Linked DNA regions of Homo sapiens: regions 1, 2, 3, 4, 5 and 7 are each linked to region 6. The links are contacts of gene promoters, found by promoter capture Hi-C in blood cells and fetal thymus (Javierre and others, 2016). All regions are on one chromosome and are shown on one strand. Each heading gives the region's core, a stretch centred on a gene start or on the middle of the fragment in contact. The rest is flanking DNA. Distances are from core to core; before and after follow the strand shown. Region 1 has its middle 180 kb from the start of SMLR1. Region 2 overlaps SMLR1 (small leucine rich protein 1). Region 3 has its middle 18 kb from the start of SMLR1. Region 4 overlaps EPB41L2 (erythrocyte membrane protein band 4.1 like 2). Region 5 has its middle 150 kb from the start of SMLR1. Region 6 holds the start of TMEM200A (transmembrane protein 200A). Region 7 has its middle 110 kb from the start of SMLR1.

Region 1 (2,700 bases), core at 164-2,663, 280 kb before region 6:
AAATGATACGGTCTTTTCAAAAGATTCACTGGAGATCAATGCCTTTTGGGGCAAAGCATGTGACCATTTGAATGTTTATCATTGAGATTTACTTACAAATGAAATGATGCACCCCACCCAGCTCTATGAGGCCTGCAGCAGGAGCCGACTGCAGCAGTACTGGTCTTCCTCTCTCTGGGTCCAGAGGTTGAATAAACAAGGCTAGGAAAGCAAGTGGCCGTCGAAGACTGTCAAAATCATTACTATAAACTTACCTTTTTATGAGGATGAAGTCCTAAGGCAAGGCAAAATCAATGATAGTAGTACTGACAATCTCTAGAAACTGCTATAATAGACTTATTTTTAAAAATAACCACAACAGTTATAGCTATATGTGTTGGGATCTGTATTTACTTCTCCAGTTCAACTAATGTTCACCAAAGTAATTTTACATATTAGGAAGTGTAGCCTCAGAAAAAATATCTGCCCCTTATTGACAGCCTTTTGCATCACAGTAATTATAATGCATTTTCTAGTTAAGCACAGCTAGCTTATGAAGCGTGTATAGAGATATTCGCATTTTACAGATAAGGAAAGCCAGACTTAGAGTGTTACATGTCTCACTTAAGTCTGCACATCTAGTAAATAGCAGAATTGAGATGTAAAACCGTAAGGTCAGTTGAAAACCTGTGTTCTTTTTATCATGGCTATGTTTTGCTGCTAGAAGCATAAATCCATATTGGTCAATTATATTAGTTTCAATATTGAGTGATAAGGAACAAGTGAGACTTCTTTAAAACCTGAGTTAGATGTTAGAAAAGCTGCTCCTCCTACATTGTGTTAAGAGCACTCATGCTCACATCTTTCTTTTACCTTGTTATTTTTCACTCAATTCTGGTATATTATACTTTAGTGGATGGAATAGGCTTTGGGGCCAGATATAATTCTTCTGGAACTTACTAGGTCAATAGCAAAATCTCTGAGACCGTTTCCTCATATATAAAAGAGAGGTAACTTTTCACATTTCATATAAGGATTAGAAGTAATAAATGTAAAGCATCTAGCACAATTTGCGTAGCTCAAAAACCATAGCTATTATTGTGGCTTATGAAGTCACTTTGTCAAAGAGACTGGAGCCTGCTATCTGCTTACTTGCTTTGGAGGCCTATGTTAGTGTGTAAGGTTGTGAGTATTCTAACTCCAGCCTTGCCGTGCCCCAGACCTATACATATTATGCATGCATATCACTGCAAGTCTCAAATACAACATACACTTTTACAAATGTTCTAAAATAGTGTACATTTTATAAAGCTCTAAAGTAAACATTGGATTTATCTGTGGACTCTGACACTGAATAGCAGATTAATAGAAAGATCTTCATTGAAAGATAGCAATCAAAGAAATAGAATACCCCACAGATCTGTCTGTTGACATATCCATAAAATAAAATTAAACAATTACAGGTTTTTATTTCAGAGACTAAAGGTCTTCAAGGTTTTTTAATAATATAATATAAAATGTAACAACAAATAAGTACCTAATATAAGTGGCAATATGTTGTCTGGCACAAAATTACTTGCAATAGATTTTAATATCGCAAATTGTTACTAGTAATATCTCATATATATGTATATATACACATATATATACAGTACATGCCAACACAAAATTAATATAAGTAGACTAACTCTTCAGAATATTTAGCTGTAGAGCTTAAAAAAGTCCAAAGGAATTTGGCAGCACACTTCCATTGCCCTGATGCAAGTCAACTGCACAATGCTTTCTTTTCCCAACTAATCATTTTTTAAAATTTTATCATTTCTGTCTCTTTTCCTCTTCCTGCTGATTTTTAGCATAGCTGAAAATTATGTGGGGTCTTATAAGTGAGTCATGGTTTTTAAAAGAATGTAGAATAATTTTGGGAGCATTAATTTAAGCTGACTGATAGAAGAATATTATATTTTGACTGCATTTTGCTTTCTATAAATAAAAGCATTCCAAAAGAATGTGGAAATACTGAAGGGAAAGAAAAGGAACACATTTGAAATTTGAAAGGGCAAATACCTAAAGGATAGTAAGTCTCCAAACTAATCAAACCACAACTCAGAGGGGAAATAAATGCACCTCAAAAATCCTTCTCTGTGTTTGTTTTCAAGATTAAAGCTGAACAAAAGATAAATAATACAGGATGAATGAAATGAACTGAGTCTGAAAAGTTTTAGAAGGTCAAGTAGGAGAAATTCAAAGAAAAAAAGATTATTTCAAACTAGTTAGGCTTTTCCTTTTTATAGCCAACTCTATGGGTATTCCTTTTCTGCTTCTTTTATGGTGAACACAACATTTATAGACTTCTGCTCTTCTATGGGCAAATATTACTCAAATTATCATCTACCTGAGAGAGTGTAAAATGAACATTTTGTATTCTATACCAGTTTTACCCTAGGTTCAATATACTTCAACACATAATAGCTTCCATTCTCATCTGTCAGCATATGGTGTTGATCATACGGTGCACAGTAAGACAGACACAAGGTTTCCAAATGCCATGAAGTATTTTAGAGGCCCGAATTTTACAAAATAAAAAGTCACATTAGAGCCCTGTTGCTAGGCAAGTCGAACCCAGCTGTGCTCAGTCTCTAACAACAGGACACTTCATTCACTGCTCTACAGTGAACATCGATGTCGCTTAGTAGGAGTGAAACCTATTACCCAAAATGCCAG
Region 2 (2,700 bases), core at 62-2,561, 460 kb before region 6:
AGCATCTTCCAGATGGTTGGCAGTAATAGTGTTTCTAGTCATTAGTATTCTTTCCAACAATAAATTTCAGATGGGACCCCCATTGCGTTAAGTAACGGATGCACACATTTTTGTTCTGCCATGGTAAATAGCTCCTTCTGCCTCCTCACTCACTCTTCCTGTAATTCCTACCTGCAGCCTGGAAGCTCCAGGCACACTTCAATTAGAGCAAGCCCAAGTAGGAGACAATGGGGAAAAACCACAGAAAATGGAGGCTCATAACCTGGCTGGGGGTGCCCCTTCACTGTAGAGGATCCTGCCTCTGGTGAAGTGCTCAGCCCTGACACTGAGGGAAAAGTCCAGGTTATTATTATAGCTCTTTGATCAGACATTTAATGAGGCCAGAATCAGAAACATACAGATTTGCAACACCTCCTCTAACTTCTGCTGATTTTGCCAGATGCCTTCTGTGGTTTTCTAGAACTGGGATTATTTTCTCTTAGTCTTAAAAACTCATAGTAAAAATCTGTCCCAGTATCTGGGACAGTCTGTGGTATATGATAGACTAACAAATATTCGTTGAATAAATGAATGAGAATTATCGCTATCCAGAATATGACATAAGTTTGGAGTAAGCTTTAAAGTTGGTGTAATGACTCTACCCAGTGAGCATGGACCCTCATCGTGTGAGGCTGACATGCTTGCTTTCCCTTGGGTTAGATCCTATGCTACAAAAATAAAGGCTCTGAGATGGAAGGGACAGACTTAACAGTTGTGGGCAAGTCTAGAAGTCAAGAAAAGCTCAGTAGCATGTCAGAATTTGGAATGAAGAAAGGGGAAGGAAGTGTGAAGAAACAAGAGGTTATTGGGAGCCTCTGCTCCCTTCACTCAAATCCTTCAGAAGTAGTTTCAATTGTATTGAGTTACAAACTTAAGGTAGTAACTTTTTTCTGAGACTTGATCTCTAGATAACTTGCACGGGCAGGGAAGTGCTGAAGATAGGAGGGCATCAGCGTGCAATCATCACAGAGGTGTACACACATGGAGCACTTCCTCTGGGGCTGGCACTTGGACTGCATTTCCCCTGCATCAGCCCCTGTGATGCCAGGCCATACCCTGCACGTTGACTTTTCCAGGGTATTCTAAAGCAATGTGATTCATACATTTATACCTCAGAATTATCTAAATAAAATACCATAGACCCATTTACATGTTACATATTACAGATGTTTTTCCAGGAATGAGTAAAACTATAAAACAGATTCACCCTCTTTTTGCAGAGTCTATCCCAAATACCAGATGTCCCACTGAATTAACTGGCCTGTAATAGCTGTGAAGTAGAGGCCAATAAGGGATCTTGATATCCATGAGGCTATCTAGACCTGTACTTGCTGCAGTTTTTGAAATACTGAAAATTTCATCCAGCCAGAGATGAAACTTGGAAACTACAGGAAGTCTCCAAGTCCCCGATGATGACATCAGCATCGTTTTATTGTCCCTGGGACGTTCAATGTCAATGGGAGGCTGAGATGCAGTGAGTGTTACGGATGGGAATCTTTGCAACAACTCTGAAAAACATTTCGACTTGGAAGACACTGAAGGGAAGCCATGGTTATGATCTTGGGGATTTCTTATTTTCTCTTCCTTTTTGGAGGCTACTTCCGGGGTTCAGTGGTAATGAATGGCTGGGTGACAAGAGCATCCAACAGACTGGTCTTAGGGCAGTGGAGGATAAACTGACTTAACAAAGAAAAGGATTTATCACATGAATATTATAGAGTGAGGCAGAATATGGCTTGACCCCTCAGCAAAAGGGCTGTTCATAAAAATGAGACACACGAAAAATGAAAGGCTAGGGGCATATTTGAGTAAGTTGTGATGAAAAACTTGATTCCATGACATACTGTCTGTGTCTCCTAGGATTTCTTTATGTTCCAAATCTCATCTTAGGAAGAAATATCCCTCATTGCACTTCTGTTAGGTTATATATTATAGCATTAGTGATCTAAGATTACCACAAAAGCTTGGCAAGTCCAAGAAATGCCTTCATGTATGTTATTACATAAACAGATGTTCAAAGAGGAGGGTTTTTCAAATTTGTTTTAATATGACACTATCCAAATTAAGAAATATGACTGGTCTTTGTTGATTTTGCTAAAATAGTTATTAACCTTGATGATATTAATCTCATGTGTACTTGGCACAGTATTAACACATAGTCTATCTAGTTACAGCCCAGTTTCATTAATTTTAATTATAGCAGAATAAACAGTGTCAATCCAAGACCCGAATGTCCATTCCAAATCACCTTAAGCTTCCTGAGTTATTTGTTTGGTTTGGTTTTTTTCCACCTTAAGACTATAATCCCATGGAACGTTTACACCAAGGTCAAGTATTTATCTATCAGGGCTTTACATTTACAAAGACTGTGACAGCAGAATGTTTGGAACATTCCCTGACCAGAAGTTCAGTGGATGAGAAAGTTGTGTGTGTGCACACACGGGCGCATACACACGCACGGACATGCACACACATGGCCACATAAACACATCTGTCATGTAAAGAAGGCAGACCATGAACAATGTTTTCACATATGTGACTCTATTGCCTTGAGAGAGAGAGACAAGCAACCATATGTCAAAATTGCTGATTCACAGTATGTCTGTGAGGTGCTACACGTGAGGGCCCCCTACAGCAGACCTTCACATCTCAGCACAAGAT
Region 3 (2,700 bases), core at 198-2,697, 440 kb before region 6:
AATACATGTCACAGAGGAGATAATCTAACATGATGCCATTACACAGAATTATAGCTGAGCTTTGATATATAAATCAGAAAACTTTTGTAAAAAAGAACCCATAATTTTTCTATTTCCCTTTAGGAAAAAAAAATCCTTGCAACTTCTGCAATATCCAGTTAATCCTCAGTGCTCATTTAAGCCTGAGCGTTTGCAGACAACTGACTAATCAGACTATTGGTTTACACAAGCCCTTCTTTCTGTCAGAAGGCTGCCGCTTAGAGATTCATGGCTACCATATAGACTACGTTCTTTCCTTAGCAGAGCGAGTTTAAAGCGCAAGTCTGTATTAATCACTAGGGGTAACTTACCAGGCCATCGCTAGAATTTTTTGCCAAAGTAGTAACGTCAAAATGACAGTTGTTTGTATAAAGAAACGAGGAGCTCATTTGCACAGCTACTGGAGGCAATGGGAGATTAATGTGTGTTGTCAGTTCTACAGGTTTAATTTGACTTGGGCTAAAATAGCATCGATACACATCTCCCCTTGCCATTAATTCCTCCTGAATGCTGATTAATTTACTCTTATTTCATCCTGAATACTGCCAGGCAGTAATGAGTTGTAGCCATCTGGCAGTTCTGTTTTATCTTCCCCACTCACCTAAAAAAGAAGCAGAGATGGGGACATTCTTTTCCTGGGCATCTCTCCAGCTGCTTAGGGTTCCTAACCTTCCTCTTGGGAATGCAGGGCAAATGTTGGTCCAGACAGTGCATTCCTGAACTGGCATGCAGTTTTTCTGTCATTGCTGGTGAGCAAAAGCCTCCTGTATGTCAGAACTGGAGGGACGCATAACAGGGTCTGTATGTCAGAATCAATGGTTAAGCCATGTAAAAGGATATTTGCAATGTACAGCTATTGCTACAAAGTGGCATTTTATAGATACATAATAACACGAAGTAACAGAGATAAGACTCTATAGACACATAAAGCAATACTGTTAATATTGTCAACTCTTCAAAGAGCAGAAAACCATCTGGTCTCAATAATTACTTCCACATATAGCTTTTTTCTTTTCATAACATTTTCAGAGTAGTCAGACATATTAACTCATTATGGGCAAAATAATAGTAAATAAAACTGACAAAATCGATTCTATTTCAAGGATAATGTTTTTTTAAAAATCAACTTTATTGAGGTGTAGTTAACATACAGTAAAATGTAACCATGTAAGTTTGTATTTCAATGAATTTTGACACATTCACATACTCAGGTAATCATTACCACAATCAAGATATAGAATATTTCTATCATCCCCCAAAATTGTTCTTGTGCCTCTTCACACTCGTCCCCACTCCTGACACCAGGCAAACTGATATTCTGTCAATGTAAATTAAATTGATCTTTTCTAGAATTTTATAGAAATGGAGTCTTACAGTATGTATGCTTTTGTGTCTGGCTTTTTTGCATAGCATAATTTATTCATGTGTTGCATCTTTCAGTAATTAATTCCTCTTGATTGCTGAGTAGTATTTTATGCCATATCATTCCATATCACTATGGATATGCTGTAATTTGTTTATCTATTCACCTATTGATGGACACTTAATTTTCAGTTTTTGGTTATCATGAATAAATTTGCAGACAATTTGTGTAGACATATATTTTCATTTCTTTTGAGTAAATACTTAGGATTGGAATTGCTGGGTCGTATGGTAAGTGTATGTTTAAAATTATAGGAAACTGTCAAACAGCTTTCCAAAATGATTATACTATTTTGCAGTCTCACCAGCAATGTATGAAGGTGCCAGTTGCTCACTGTCCTCACCCATACTTGATATTATCATCTTCTTAAAATTTTATATATGCTAGTAAGTATGTAGTTTTATTTCATTGTGCATTTAATTTGAATTTCCATGTGTTTTAAAATATAAAATTTTATTATCTTTGAGGTATGGCAAGGACAATGGATCAGGATGACTGCCATTAAAAAGATACTTTGAGCCAGGCACAGTGGCTCATGCCTATAATGCCAGCACTTTGGGAGGCCGAGGCAGGCGGATCACTTGAAGTCAGGAGTTCGAGACCAGCCTGGCCAACGCGGAGAAACCCTGTCTCTACTAAAACTACAAAAATTAGCTGGCCATGGTTGTGGGCACCTGTAATCCCAGCTACTCAGGAGGCTGAGGCAGGAGAATTGCCTGAACCCAGGAGATGGAGGTTGCAGTGAGCCGAGATCATGCCACTGCACTCCAGCCTGGGCGACAGAGCGAGACTCTGTCTCAAAAAAAAAAAAAAAAAAAAGATAGTTTGTTGTCACTTGTGAGGTGCTTTTCATATGCAAACCAACCAATTCAGAGCCCCACCCTCAACTATATGTTTTGTAGAATTTTGGTTTCGTTAGACTGCTATCTTTGGGAATTAGCATTAGGTAGCCCTAGGAGGAACAGTCCCCTCCAAGGTCAACAAGATGTCAAAGCATCAAAACTACAGAATAAAAAAAACATGATGAATACATCTGATTACTAAAGATGTTGAGCATCTTTCCATACTCTTGCTGGTTACTCATATAACTTCTTTTGTAAAATGTTCAAACCTTTGCTCATTTTTTATTGTGTTACCTTCCTATTGAGTTTTAGCTGATTAAGTTCTTTTTTAAAAAAAAAAAATAATTTTTTAAAAATTTAATTAAGACAAGATCTTGCTCTGTTGCCCAGGCTGGA
Region 4 (2,700 bases), core at 105-2,604, 510 kb before region 6:
GCATTTGTCTACGGGAGTGTTTTGACTTTACCAGAGTACCTTTTCAATTTCTGTCTTTGTTGTATCTTCATTTTACTGTTAATTCTGCAGGGGTTCTCGTTTATCTTTGAATTGTAATTCTTATTGAAAGTAAAATAAAAAAATTATGCATAAGTATATAATTTGACCACTTTTCCAAATTTCTATAATATGGGCTTTTATAGCTTTTTAAAAAAGCAGGAATAGTTTCTTTTTAAAAAAAAAAAATACATTGCATTTTCAAAGTGGCTGTAGTTTGAACAATTTTGAGAGTAGAGCAGAAAATTGGAAACCAAGTCATTTAATCTTTAATGGGTAAATAACTCTATTGTAATCCTCTTAACGTGTTGTATGAATTATGATGACTTAAATTTGCATAGACTATTCTCTCCTGAGTCTAAGAGATTATGTACATTGAGTTGTAAGGTACTTTTGAAGGTATGTCATTGGATAACGAAATGTGTGGCACTTCTTTAAATTCCCCAGTGATCTCTCACTGGGAAGGGCATCCCACCCACCCCCACTTCCCCAAGGGACGATGTAATCATAGAGATGGTAATGAAGTTAAGTCAGTCCAAAAGCTTTTTCCTCTGCTGAATATTGCAAGTGCCTACTCCCCTCACCCTCCTCACCTCACTTTCTGCGCTCCTCACCCTTCTTAGCTCACAGTATGAAGGGGCCCCTTAGGAGCGTCATTGATTTTTCTTTAAGATTTCTGAATAGTGACTGGGTGCGGTGGCTCACGCCTGTATTCCCAGCACTTTGGGAGGCCGAGGAGGATAGATCACCTGAAGTCAGGAGTTAGAGACCAGCCTGGCCAACATGGCAAAACCCCGTCTCTACTAAAAATATAAAAATTAGCTGGGCATGGTGCTGCACGCCTATAATCCCAGCTACTGGGGAGGCTGAGGCAGGAAAATCACTTAAACCTGGGAGGTAGAGGTTGCAGTGAGCCGAGATCGCGGCACACTGCACTCCAGCCTGAGTGACAGAGCGAGACTCCGTCTCAAAAAAAAAAAAAAACCTGAATAGTGGGGTTTATTAGGAATTATTCTCACACTTCTGACATGAGGGGGTGCTTCATGATGACTCTTGAATATTGACATTTCAAGTTTCTAAGGACAGTTCTGCTGTCCCTCAGGCAGGTTGGGAGCCATTGTTTAAGAGCCAGACACAGCAAAGTTAAATTTGCTTTAATGGTTTAATTTAGGGAGAAATAATTTTCACGTTGCTCATTGAGCTTTCAACTCTGAGTTTGTCTTCCTATTTTGAATTGTTTTTCTTTACCTGTTTCTTTTTGCAAAAAAAGGGGACAGGGTAATTTACTCTGTGGCATATTTAGCACGCCTGAGGGAATGAATGTGGGCTGCTGTCAGAATGTTTGTTGTACAGAGAGTTAAGGTGGTATTGAGGAGGGAGATTGTAGGAGTTGGAGTGGTGAGGGAAGGCCTTACAGAAAATGCAGACTATGAAGTGGGCCTCAGGGAGGTTAGAAAACTGGAAAGGCCCAGAATGTGCAGATAAGGGCAAAGAAGGGCCTTGGAGGCAGGAGAGGGAGGACTGCCCAAGCTGTAACACAGGAATAAGCATTTCAAGTGTAGGGGCCACTGAAGAGGCCATTCCGTGCAGAGAAAGGCCAAGGAACTACCTCAAGAATATATGAAATGGCGTTTGGGTGGGTCGGTTGTGCTCAGTTGGTGATCAGCCAAGCAGTTTTCACTGGTTTCTGGAGGTCGCAACTATCAAAGATTCTCAAGCAGGGTGGAAAAGCTGGCGCTCACAAACCTCTTCATAAGCCTGCTCCAGAATCTGTCAGAATTCTCATCTTTTCTTTCATTTTATGCTGTTCTGTTGTTCTTTCTTGTGTAACCTTTCCTTTCTTCCAATAGGTCACTGCTGTCTGTTCTGACTTATTGCTAATTCTTTGCTCTTCCTTTTCTGACCTCTCTAGAGCCTAGAAGAGGAGATAACATCAATTTTGTTTAGTGAAAAGGGCTTTTCTGATAGCATGAAAGCCACCTTCACTTCAGCCACCACTTGGACAGCAGAGGGCGCTGTTGTGAGCGCTAATGCACCTTCTGAAAAGCTTTCTTCCTCGCCCTTCTCACACTTGCTTGAGGTGCATTTTACTTTGTTTCCCCTGTTACTAAAAGCCACATATGAGAGAGATTTTCATTTTTTTAAATATTCAGGCACCATTCCCTCCAGTGCTTTCATTGGTGAAATTAATTCTTCCTGGGAGAAACATTCAAGAAACAATGACTGAATTGGAACATGAAGAAAAGATATAGATTGGATGTTTCTCCTGCTTCTTTGGTCAAAGAAAAAAAAAATCTGCCTAAATTCAGAGAATAATTTAAATCATTAAGTTCCAGAGTCTGGGCTGTTAAGCAGAGGGAAACCCTCAACCAGATATGCTTTGCAGAGTTGACATTTTCAAAACCCCAAATTTCAGGCATCCTCTGATGGCATGTTATTTTTAAAATTCTGTTTATATGGAAAAAATCTGAAGTGCCTCCCATGCTCCATGACATAATTGCTTTTGAATGACCCTAAGGAATTCCCTGAACTTGGGCAGAACCTATCCAGCTAATTGAGGTTAAGATATAACAATAATAATAATTCACTGATCTATAATAATAATGAAATGTGTGTTTCAGAAATGTTCTGGTCACTGGATAT
Region 5 (2,700 bases), core at 119-2,618, 310 kb before region 6:
GTTATTGTTGTTATTATTTCACCATCGGGCTATTTATATCTTAGTGTGGGATGACTTAGGAAAATATTTCCCTAAGGTTTTTGGTCTCTCAATTAACATCAAACTGTTTGAGTGAAGTTTCATTGCCAGAATTCCCCAAACTACCAAGAAGTTCTATTCAGATTTTTCTAACCATAAATGAGCCTGTTTAGTGTTTCCCATGACCATATATCAAGATATTTTCAGTTTCAGGCTGGACTAGTACACAAAAGGACTTAAAAGCCACAAAGGAAAATCTGCCACCCCTTATGGCACTAGAGTTTTCAGATAAAATTTCTATAAAATGCTAGTTTGTATCTTAATGAACGTTAGACTGTTCTAATTATTTGGAGTCACATTACTATTTATCTTGTGGTAACGAAAGATTCCATTCAGATACAGTTTTTTTTCAGGGTACACCAGAAATTCTTAGCAGTGTTTCAGCCTTTAAGGAGAGGGAAGGGAGATTACTTTTTCCTTTTTGTACTATTTAAAGATATCCATGTATTACTTTTATAAAGTTTAAAAATGTACAATACTCATGTAAAGAAGTGAAAAATGCTTTGGGAGGCTGAGGTGGGCGGATCACTTGAGGCCAGGAGTTTGAGACCAGCCTGGCCAACATGGTAAAACCCTGTTTCTACTAAAAAAAAAAAAAAATACAGAAATTAGCTGCGCGTGGTGGCACATGCCTATAATCCCAGCTACTCGAGAGGCTTGAGGCATGAGAATCACTTGAACCTGGGAGATGGAGGTTGCAGTGAGATGAGATGCCCCTGCACTCCATTGAGCTACAGAGTGAGACTCTGTAAAAAAAAAAAAAAAAAAAAAAAAAAAAAAAGTGAAAAATGAGAATTGTAAATTCATCTTCAGGCGATTCAAGAATATGTTGTGATGAAGGATTTTCCAGGCAGCCTATATCTACAAGTTCAGACTAGTCTGAGAAGTAAGAATTAGAGCTGCCGGGCTACCATCAAGCATCCAATTTTCTGAGTAATCAACTTGGCAAGAAAGTAAAAATGAAGGGGTGCTCATGGTGAAAGTGACGAGGGAAATCAGCACTTTCACATTCAAAAGAATGTATGTCAGATATTCTAAAAGTTAAAATCACAGCTAACAAGAATATCCTTAATGATTTATTCCCTCAATAAATCACTTTGTTCTTGTGAAACAAATGCTGCAATGTACTTTCTTTTTAAATCTATGTCTCTGTCTCCTTTTGGCTGAATATTTTAACTCAGTTTTGCTCTTACTGCCTTAGTTTTCTAAATGCACATTTGAATCATTGTTCAATGGCAAAAGTCATATTACAAAGTGTTCCACGTCTGTGGCAAGGCTAAGGACCACAATTCCTGGGAACTGGAGTTGCACTTTAATCCCTCAAATTAGGGAGGAAAGGCACTGCTTACCCTGACATGAGAAAATGCAAAGTTATGATGTGGAAATAATCTTCGGGCACTTACTGAAGGGTTTATCAAGTGAGTAATTTGTAAAAGCTATACACATAGTATTAATGTTAGTTGAGTTTACCTCTGTACCAGGCCCTGTGCTAAGTAGTTGTATTAGTCAGGGTTCTCCAGAAAAACAGAACCAGTAGGATATGCATTTATCTATCTATATAAATATATATGTGTTAGTTATATAGATACATGGGGATTAATTATGAGGGATTGGCTCAAGAGATCATGGAGGTTGAGAAATCCCACTACTTGTTGTCTGCAAGATGGAGTCCAAAGAAAGCCAGCGTTGTACTTCCAGTCCAAGTCCAAAGGCCTGGAAAACAGGGGAGCCAATGTGTAACTCCCATCTAAGTCTGAAGGCCTGAGAATCAGTAGCTCTGATGTCCAAGGGCAGGAGCAGATGAATATACCAGCTCAAGAAGAGAGAATGAAATCACCCCTCATCCAACTTTTGTTCTTTTTGAGGACTCAACAGATTGGATGATGCCTACACATATTGGTGAAGGTGATCTTCTTTACTTAGTCTGTTGATTTAGATGCTAATGTCTTCTGAAAATACCTTCATAGACACACCCAAATATAATGTTTTACCAGCTATCTGGGCATCCCTTATCCCAGACAAGTTGACACATAACATTGACCATGAGAGTGCTTTAGCTGCATTATTTCCTTTCATCTTTACAAGTGATGTGATGGGAGGTTTTTATTTTCCTTATTTTATAGATGAGTTGAGAATCCCAGAGGAATAGTAACTTGTTTTAAGGTCACGTAATTAGCAAATGGCCAACCTCCAGGGTCTTAAAATACATAAAGACCCAAGCAAAAAACATTTTAATTTCTACCAAAGTTATTCATGCCCTTCCTCTTCCTACATCCCTTCTCTCTCATTCTTGTATTCTCCCAAAGTAAACTCCTTATTGTTCCTACATCTTTATTTTTTAGAGGACAAAACTCTTTAATTTCCCTTGTCTTTTCTCTCATATTTTCTGACTATCTTTTAGCTCTATATTCTGGGGGTTTAAAAAATTGTGTTCACTAATTATATTGGATATTTCTGCTGAGTTATTAAAATGTAACTAACCAAACTTAATCTTTCAGATGTATGGCAGACAGACTCTAAGTTGATCACTCCGTGATACTGCCTCCTGATGTTCATGCCTCTAAATGTGGACAGGCTGTCATTTGCTTCAAAACAACAGATAGGAAGCCACTTCTATGATTA
Region 6 (2,700 bases), core at 124-2,623:
AAGAATAATCATCGATTCTTGAAATGTTTTCTATGCAGTTGTCCATAACTACTTCTGAAGGTATTCAGAAGAGACAAGGCAAGAGACACTTTAGTCCAACATATTTAGTTTTTAAATACACCAGACTAAGGTGGACCGGACTAAGGCTGATTCCAATTAGTCAATTACCTGTATGTGCTGCATCTGCCTTTCTCTCCGACATTACCAATGCCCGGTACTGAACAATGAATTGTTATTTAAAAAAAACACACAAACACACACACATTTTTCTAAATCAAACAGCGGTAAATACACACAGAGAGCTTGCGCCTACACAATGTGAAGTGTTGGCTGGAACAATTTATAGCAAAAGAATGATTAATGAAGCAAATCTTAGAAGCCCTCAGTCCTTTCTCTTACAGACAAGACTACAGGGAGAAGAGTAGTGCTGAATTTTGCAAATAATTGCTTTGCCTCTCCATTTTGCCTGTGTAGATTCTACCCCATCCAGATACTGCTTTACGAAACCCTGACCATACTTTGCTCAATCATGAATTAACGCTGTGGACATTACAGAGAATGCTGACTCTCAGGAACCGAGACAAAGGAGGGTGTTGCTTGGAGAAACCCAGCCAGGCGCTCCAGTACTCCGGGTTCTTGGAGGCTGCCCCGCACGGCTTCTCTCGCGCTCCCGGGACTGGGGAGTCTGGACCTGATGGCGGACTTGGTTTATTTCCCAAACTTTAGGAGAGACAGCGTTTACCTAACTCTGGAGGCTGTAGCGGAGGGGAGGGGAGGGCAGAGGGCTGAAGAAGTGCCCGGTTTCGGCTGCGGTGGCCGCCCACCCACCTCCCCACTCCCGTCAGCACCCTTTCCTTCCCCTCACCTGTCCTGAGCACCGGGCCCTGGGGGTCGGGTCGCCTCTCCCTGTTCTCAGTCCTGGTCTCACTCCAGGAGCTGTCGGGACGTCGGGCGCCTCTGGAGGCGGACGAAGAAGGCGGCAGGGTCGGGGGCGTCAGCGGGAATCTCGGCCGCCGCGGGCAGCCGCGGTCTCCCTCCCCATCCCAGGGCTCGGGCGGCCACCGCGGGCGGATGAGTCAGGCGAGGGGGCGGGTGGCAAGGGGTGCAAGCGGACGGAGGGTGGGGGCGCCCCTATGCCCGCGCCGGGGGGGCACCGGAGGCCTCGGGGCAGGGGATGCGCCGCTGCCGGTGCTCACAGAGGGCCGCCGCCATCCGGGCGCAGAGTCCAGGCGCGCCTGCCCTCGGAGGGCACCGGGCGCAGCAAGCCGGGCAGGGGAGAGGGAGTCGCCGCTCAGGCGGCGCCGCCACCGCGTCCAAGAAAGACAAAAGGGACCGGGAACGGGAGGGGAAAAGTTTTCTGCTCGGCTCCAGATGGATCCCAGCCCCAAACCTCACGCCATAAAGCCCCGAAGAGGCGGGTTGGGGGCGGGGGCCGGGGCGGACTTCCAGGGGCGTGGCTGCGCGCCTGCGACCCCGGACCGTGCCAATCTCGCCGCCGCCCCAAAACCTGTGGGAAACCCCAGTCCTGCCACCCACTCCTCCTGGAGGACGCAGACAGGATCTGCTCTGCAGGAGCCCAGGCCGGCCGATCCGCGTCCCGGCCACAAAGTTGCACTTCGAGAGCCCAAATCACCCGCAGACAAAACCCATCTTTGGGAACAAAGTACCCGCTTGCAGGCGCTCTTCCCGGGCTGGAAGGCTGGCGTGCGGAAACGGACACACCCACCCGTGGGGCCCGCCTCTAGCTACCGCGGGACCACCGGTTACCGAGCCAGGGACCCGGCTCCCCCAGTTCTCCGGAGCGGCTGGGGAGCTCCAGCCGACTCGCAGTATTCCCGGAGCAGGCACCGCAGGACCCTGGCTCCACGCCCCTCGGACGCTTTCTCCTCAGATGCCGCCCGGCGGGCCGGGGTCCCCCTGGCGGGCTGCGCGGGCGCTGCGCGAGCTAAACCAAACCTGGCCGGAAAAGACGCGGCCAAGGCCCGCTCCGTCCACGCTTCCCGCCGGCCCGGCAAGGGGTTCCGGAGAACGGCTTGGGGGGGCGAGAACCATGGGCGGGGGAAATGGAAGACAGAGGGAACTGAAGCACGGGGGTCTTCGATGAGCAGTGCGGATGTTCGACTCCAAACATCAAAGCCAACGAGAGGTTCAGGTTACTCCTCCTTGACCCCAAACATCCAGTGAGTGGAGACTGGCCTGTTCACAGAGTAAAATATGTCGTCTCTAATTCGGCAAAGACGGTGATGACTGTATATATGCAGGCCAATTCCGTAAGTAAAGTTTCATGTAAAACTAATTACCGGATATTCCAACCACCCCCTGTGCAGGCCAGCCGCATGCACAAGGTGTGTGCTATGCTTGTGTCCCCTGGATCTGTTTTAAGTGATAGAAGGCAAGTATGATATTCTGGTGCAGTGTATTTGTTTATTTCGGCGTGTGATCTGTTTATCTCGTTTTCAAGAAAAGTTTGCTTCTGGGGGGGTATAAAATCCGTGTTTGGGGGGTGGGGGAGAGCCATGCAAAAATTTCCACATTAGAAAAAAAAGTCTTTAAAATCAGATATGGCAATGAGAAGAGACTGTAGAAATGGATTTCCTGTGGTATAACCTTCTTGCCTTGACTAGAAGAATTTAGAGATTGGGCACTTTTAGTGGAGATGTCACAATCAAAATGTTTTATAAAAAGAAAGAAAAGAAAACT
Region 7 (2,700 bases), core at 153-2,652, 350 kb before region 6:
TTGGCAGTCTTCTCTACCACGTTTTGGCTCCACATCATCTACAATAGGTATTGGCAAACTTTGTCTCTAAAGGGTCAGATAGTCAATGTTTTTTGGACTTTCGGGCCATATGGTGTCTGTCTGTCCTGTCAACTAGTCAGTTAAGCCACTGAAACATAGAAGCATCCGTGGCAGTACATAACCACCTGAGTGTGACCATCTTTCCATAAAGCTTTGCTTAGAAACACACGTGGCAGGCCAGGTTTGGCCTCTGGGCTGTAGTCGCTGACCTTTGACCTAGGAAGTGTCTGTTCATAAACTGAGATGTTAAAGAAAATGCTATTGATGTAGTGATTTGAATGTGAGAAGGTTGGATTCTAATGGGTCTGTGAACCTCTCCACATGTGGGCAGAGGAGATTCACCTACTGCTTATAAACATGCAGCCGATGCATTTGAAAAAAACACAAAATGCTTGCTCTATCACCATCGCTGCTCTTTGCAGAAATCCTATCTCAACTCCTGACAGCGTAGAAAGATGGGAGGTGGGGGAGGGGTGGTTGCCAGGAGGAAAGTCTCATTGCCATGGAAACAGCTTTCTGCATTCCTGCATTGGTCTGTGAACACCAGGTGGTTCACAAACAACCAAGAAGCCTCTGCCTTACATTATGAAGATAAAACTGCTTTTGACAACATTCAGAAAAATGCATATGCCTTGGCCACAGGTCCATGGGTTTCCGAATGATTTCTCACATACCTGAACATCACTGTTTTCTGAACAGCCTTGGGGAACATTTTTTCTTTAACTGATTAAGCACAGGAAACAACAGTGATTGAAATTTTAGATATTCTTTCTTTCCTTTCAGACTGTAGGTTAATGCTAGAAAAGCGTGGCTAATCAGATTTACCATTTCTTCACACTTTATTACTTCAACAAATGAGACAGGGAAACCTTCCTAATATCCAAAGCGTTCCAGGGTTTCATAAAACCGTTTACAAGATTTATTATTATTATTTTCTCCCCAGAGTTTCTTGCTCAATTTCAAATAGTAAACATCCCAATTTTGACCTTCTAAATGCAAAATGACTCTTCCTAATTGTCCCTCCCCCTTTATGCTGTGTGACAAATTGCAGATCAAATTTTTTGAGGTATAGCATGTAATAATTACTTTCTATAATTAATTTAATTATCAAACTATAAGCTTTTGTTTTCCTGCAAGGAGACACAGCTGGGGACTAAAAAAATTAGAGGCTAATGCTAGGTACTGGGAAATAGTGCCCAGATTAGAGGAAGTCCTCTCCAAGTATAGCCATGTGACACATAATGATGTTTTGGTCAATGTTGGATTGCATCTATGACCCATAATAAGATTATATCATAATTTTACTGTACCTTACCTTTTCTATGTTTAGATATGTTTAGAGACATAAATACTTACCATTGTCTTCCAGTTCCCTACAGTATTCAGTACAGTAACATGCTGTAAAGGTTTGTAGCCTAGGTAGGAGCAATAGGCTATACCATCTAGCCTAGGTGTGTAGTAGGCTGAACCAGCTAGGTTTGTGTAAGTACACTCTATGATGTTCATTTCATGGGCATCCGTGTGAAGAGACCACCAAACAGGCTTTGTGTGAGCAATAAAGCTTTTAATCACCTGGGTACAGGCGGGCTGAGTCCGAAAAGAGAGTCAGCGAAGGGAGATAAGGGTGGGGCCGTTTTATAGGATTTGGGTAGATAAAAGAAAATTACAGTCAAAGGGGATTTGTTCTCTGGCGGGCAGGAGTGAGGGTCGCAAGATGCTCGGTGGGGGAGATTTTTGAGCCAGAACGAGCCAGGAAAAGGACTTTCACAAGATAATGTCATCACTTAAGGCAAGGACCAGCCGTTTACACTTCTTTTGTGGTGGAATGTCATCAGTTAAGGTGGGGCAGGGCATTTTCACTTCTTTTGTGATTCTTCAGTTACTTCAGGCCATCTGGGCGTATATGTGCAAGTCACCGGGGATGTGATGGCTTGGCTTGGGCTCAGAGGCCTGACAGTTCATACCACAACTAAATCACCTAATAACCATTTCCTCATCTTTAAGTGATGCATGACTATACAAGGATGGTCATTTTTGGCTAGAAATATTATTGAAATTAAATTCTACCTTGGAGACATCAATTATTAGAAGAAGGCTAAATGCTCAGAGAAATATAAAAAATGTGTGTTGCCTCCATTTGACAACACCACTGACTATACATGTATTTTGGATTGTTTTTCCAGCAGCATCAATATTTTGATTCCTTTTTTATGTTCTGACTACATAATTTTCAGATATGACTTGCTAAGGTTAGGAGTCTAGAGGGGTGTTAGCAAATGTTGATCACATTCTGAGAAATCACAATACATTGCTTGACTTGAAGCTCGTGGGCCTGTGTGTAACTGAACATATGTCCTGGTTCCTTTATACACCCCTCTTTCCATTGTAGTAGTATCCTCAGAGTTTCAAAATGCTCTTTATATCCCACTTTCATGACTTCTGCTGTATCTGAATATCACTTGTTTTGTGGGTTGAATTGTGCCCTCCCAAAAGATATGCTGAAGTCCTAATCCTCAGTATGTGTGAATGTGACCTTGCTTGGAAATGGTCTTTGCAAGTATATTCACGTGAAGATGAGGTAGTACAGGGTAAGAGTGAACTCTAGGCCAATGACCAATGTCCTTACAAGAAGATGGAAAT

Evidence for each region. The method cuts DNA at HindIII sites, captures the fragments that hold promoters and counts their contacts. A CHiCAGO score of 5 or more calls a contact.
Region 1: a fragment that was not itself captured here is called in contact with the fragment with the promoter of TMEM200A in region 6 in 1 of 17 cell types (megakaryocytes); the score reaches 5.5 in megakaryocytes.
Region 2: a contact is called between a fragment that was not itself captured here and the fragment with the promoter of TMEM200A in region 6, in 4 of 17 cell types (total CD8 T cells, naive CD8 T cells, erythroblasts and 1 more). The highest score is 6.3, in total CD8 T cells.
Region 3: a fragment that was not itself captured here is called in contact with the fragment with the promoter of TMEM200A in region 6 in 1 of 17 cell types (megakaryocytes); the score reaches 6.8 in megakaryocytes.
Region 4: a contact is called between a fragment that was not itself captured here and the fragment with the promoter of TMEM200A in region 6, in 1 of 17 cell types (megakaryocytes). The highest score is 5.0, in megakaryocytes.
Region 5: a fragment that was not itself captured here is called in contact with the fragment with the promoter of TMEM200A in region 6 in 5 of 17 cell types (megakaryocytes, activated CD4 T cells, non-activated CD4 T cells and 2 more); the score reaches 8.8 in megakaryocytes.
Region 7: a fragment that was not itself captured here is called in contact with the fragment with the promoter of TMEM200A in region 6 in 7 of 17 cell types (megakaryocytes, activated CD4 T cells, non-activated CD4 T cells and 4 more); the score reaches 12.5 in megakaryocytes.

Annotation. Positions count from the first base shown.
Region 1 is chr6:130,646,656-130,649,355 of GRCh38, reverse strand. No RefSeq gene overlaps it. Among named protein-coding and RNA genes, the nearest start is that of SMLR1, 180 kb to the left of the region's middle. The HindIII fragment of the contact is 3,144 bases long and covers 1-2,700 here.
Region 2 is chr6:130,827,844-130,830,543 of GRCh38, reverse strand. All of the region lies in intron 1 of SMLR1 (small leucine rich protein 1), which reads right to left. Among named protein-coding and RNA genes, the nearest start is that of SMLR1, 1.8 kb to the right of the region's middle. The HindIII fragment of the contact is 1,387 bases long and covers 618-2,004 here.
Region 3 is chr6:130,808,412-130,811,111 of GRCh38, reverse strand. No RefSeq gene overlaps it. Among named protein-coding and RNA genes, the nearest start is that of SMLR1, 18 kb to the left of the region's middle. The HindIII fragment of the contact is 4,039 bases long and covers 1-2,700 here.
Region 4 is chr6:130,871,808-130,874,507 of GRCh38, reverse strand. All of the region lies in intron 14 of EPB41L2 (erythrocyte membrane protein band 4.1 like 2), which reads left to right. Among named protein-coding and RNA genes, the nearest start is that of SMLR1, 46 kb to the right of the region's middle. The HindIII fragment of the contact is 1,505 bases long and covers 602-2,106 here.
Region 5 is chr6:130,678,625-130,681,324 of GRCh38, reverse strand. No RefSeq gene overlaps it. Among named protein-coding and RNA genes, the nearest start is that of SMLR1, 150 kb to the left of the region's middle. The HindIII fragment of the contact is 7,610 bases long and covers 1-2,700 here.
Region 6 is chr6:130,364,690-130,367,389 of GRCh38, reverse strand. TMEM200A (transmembrane protein 200A) reads right to left here and starts at 1,373. Exons shown (of 3, transcript NM_001258277.2): 1 at 866-1,373. It also overlaps a transcript of SAMD3 not described here. RefSeq lists a silencer at 1,840-1,939. The HindIII fragment of the contact is 9,800 bases long and covers 1-2,700 here.
Region 7 is chr6:130,711,160-130,713,859 of GRCh38, reverse strand. No RefSeq gene overlaps it. Among named protein-coding and RNA genes, the nearest start is that of SMLR1, 110 kb to the left of the region's middle. RefSeq lists an enhancer at 1,635-2,149. The HindIII fragment of the contact is 442 bases long and covers 1,182-1,623 here.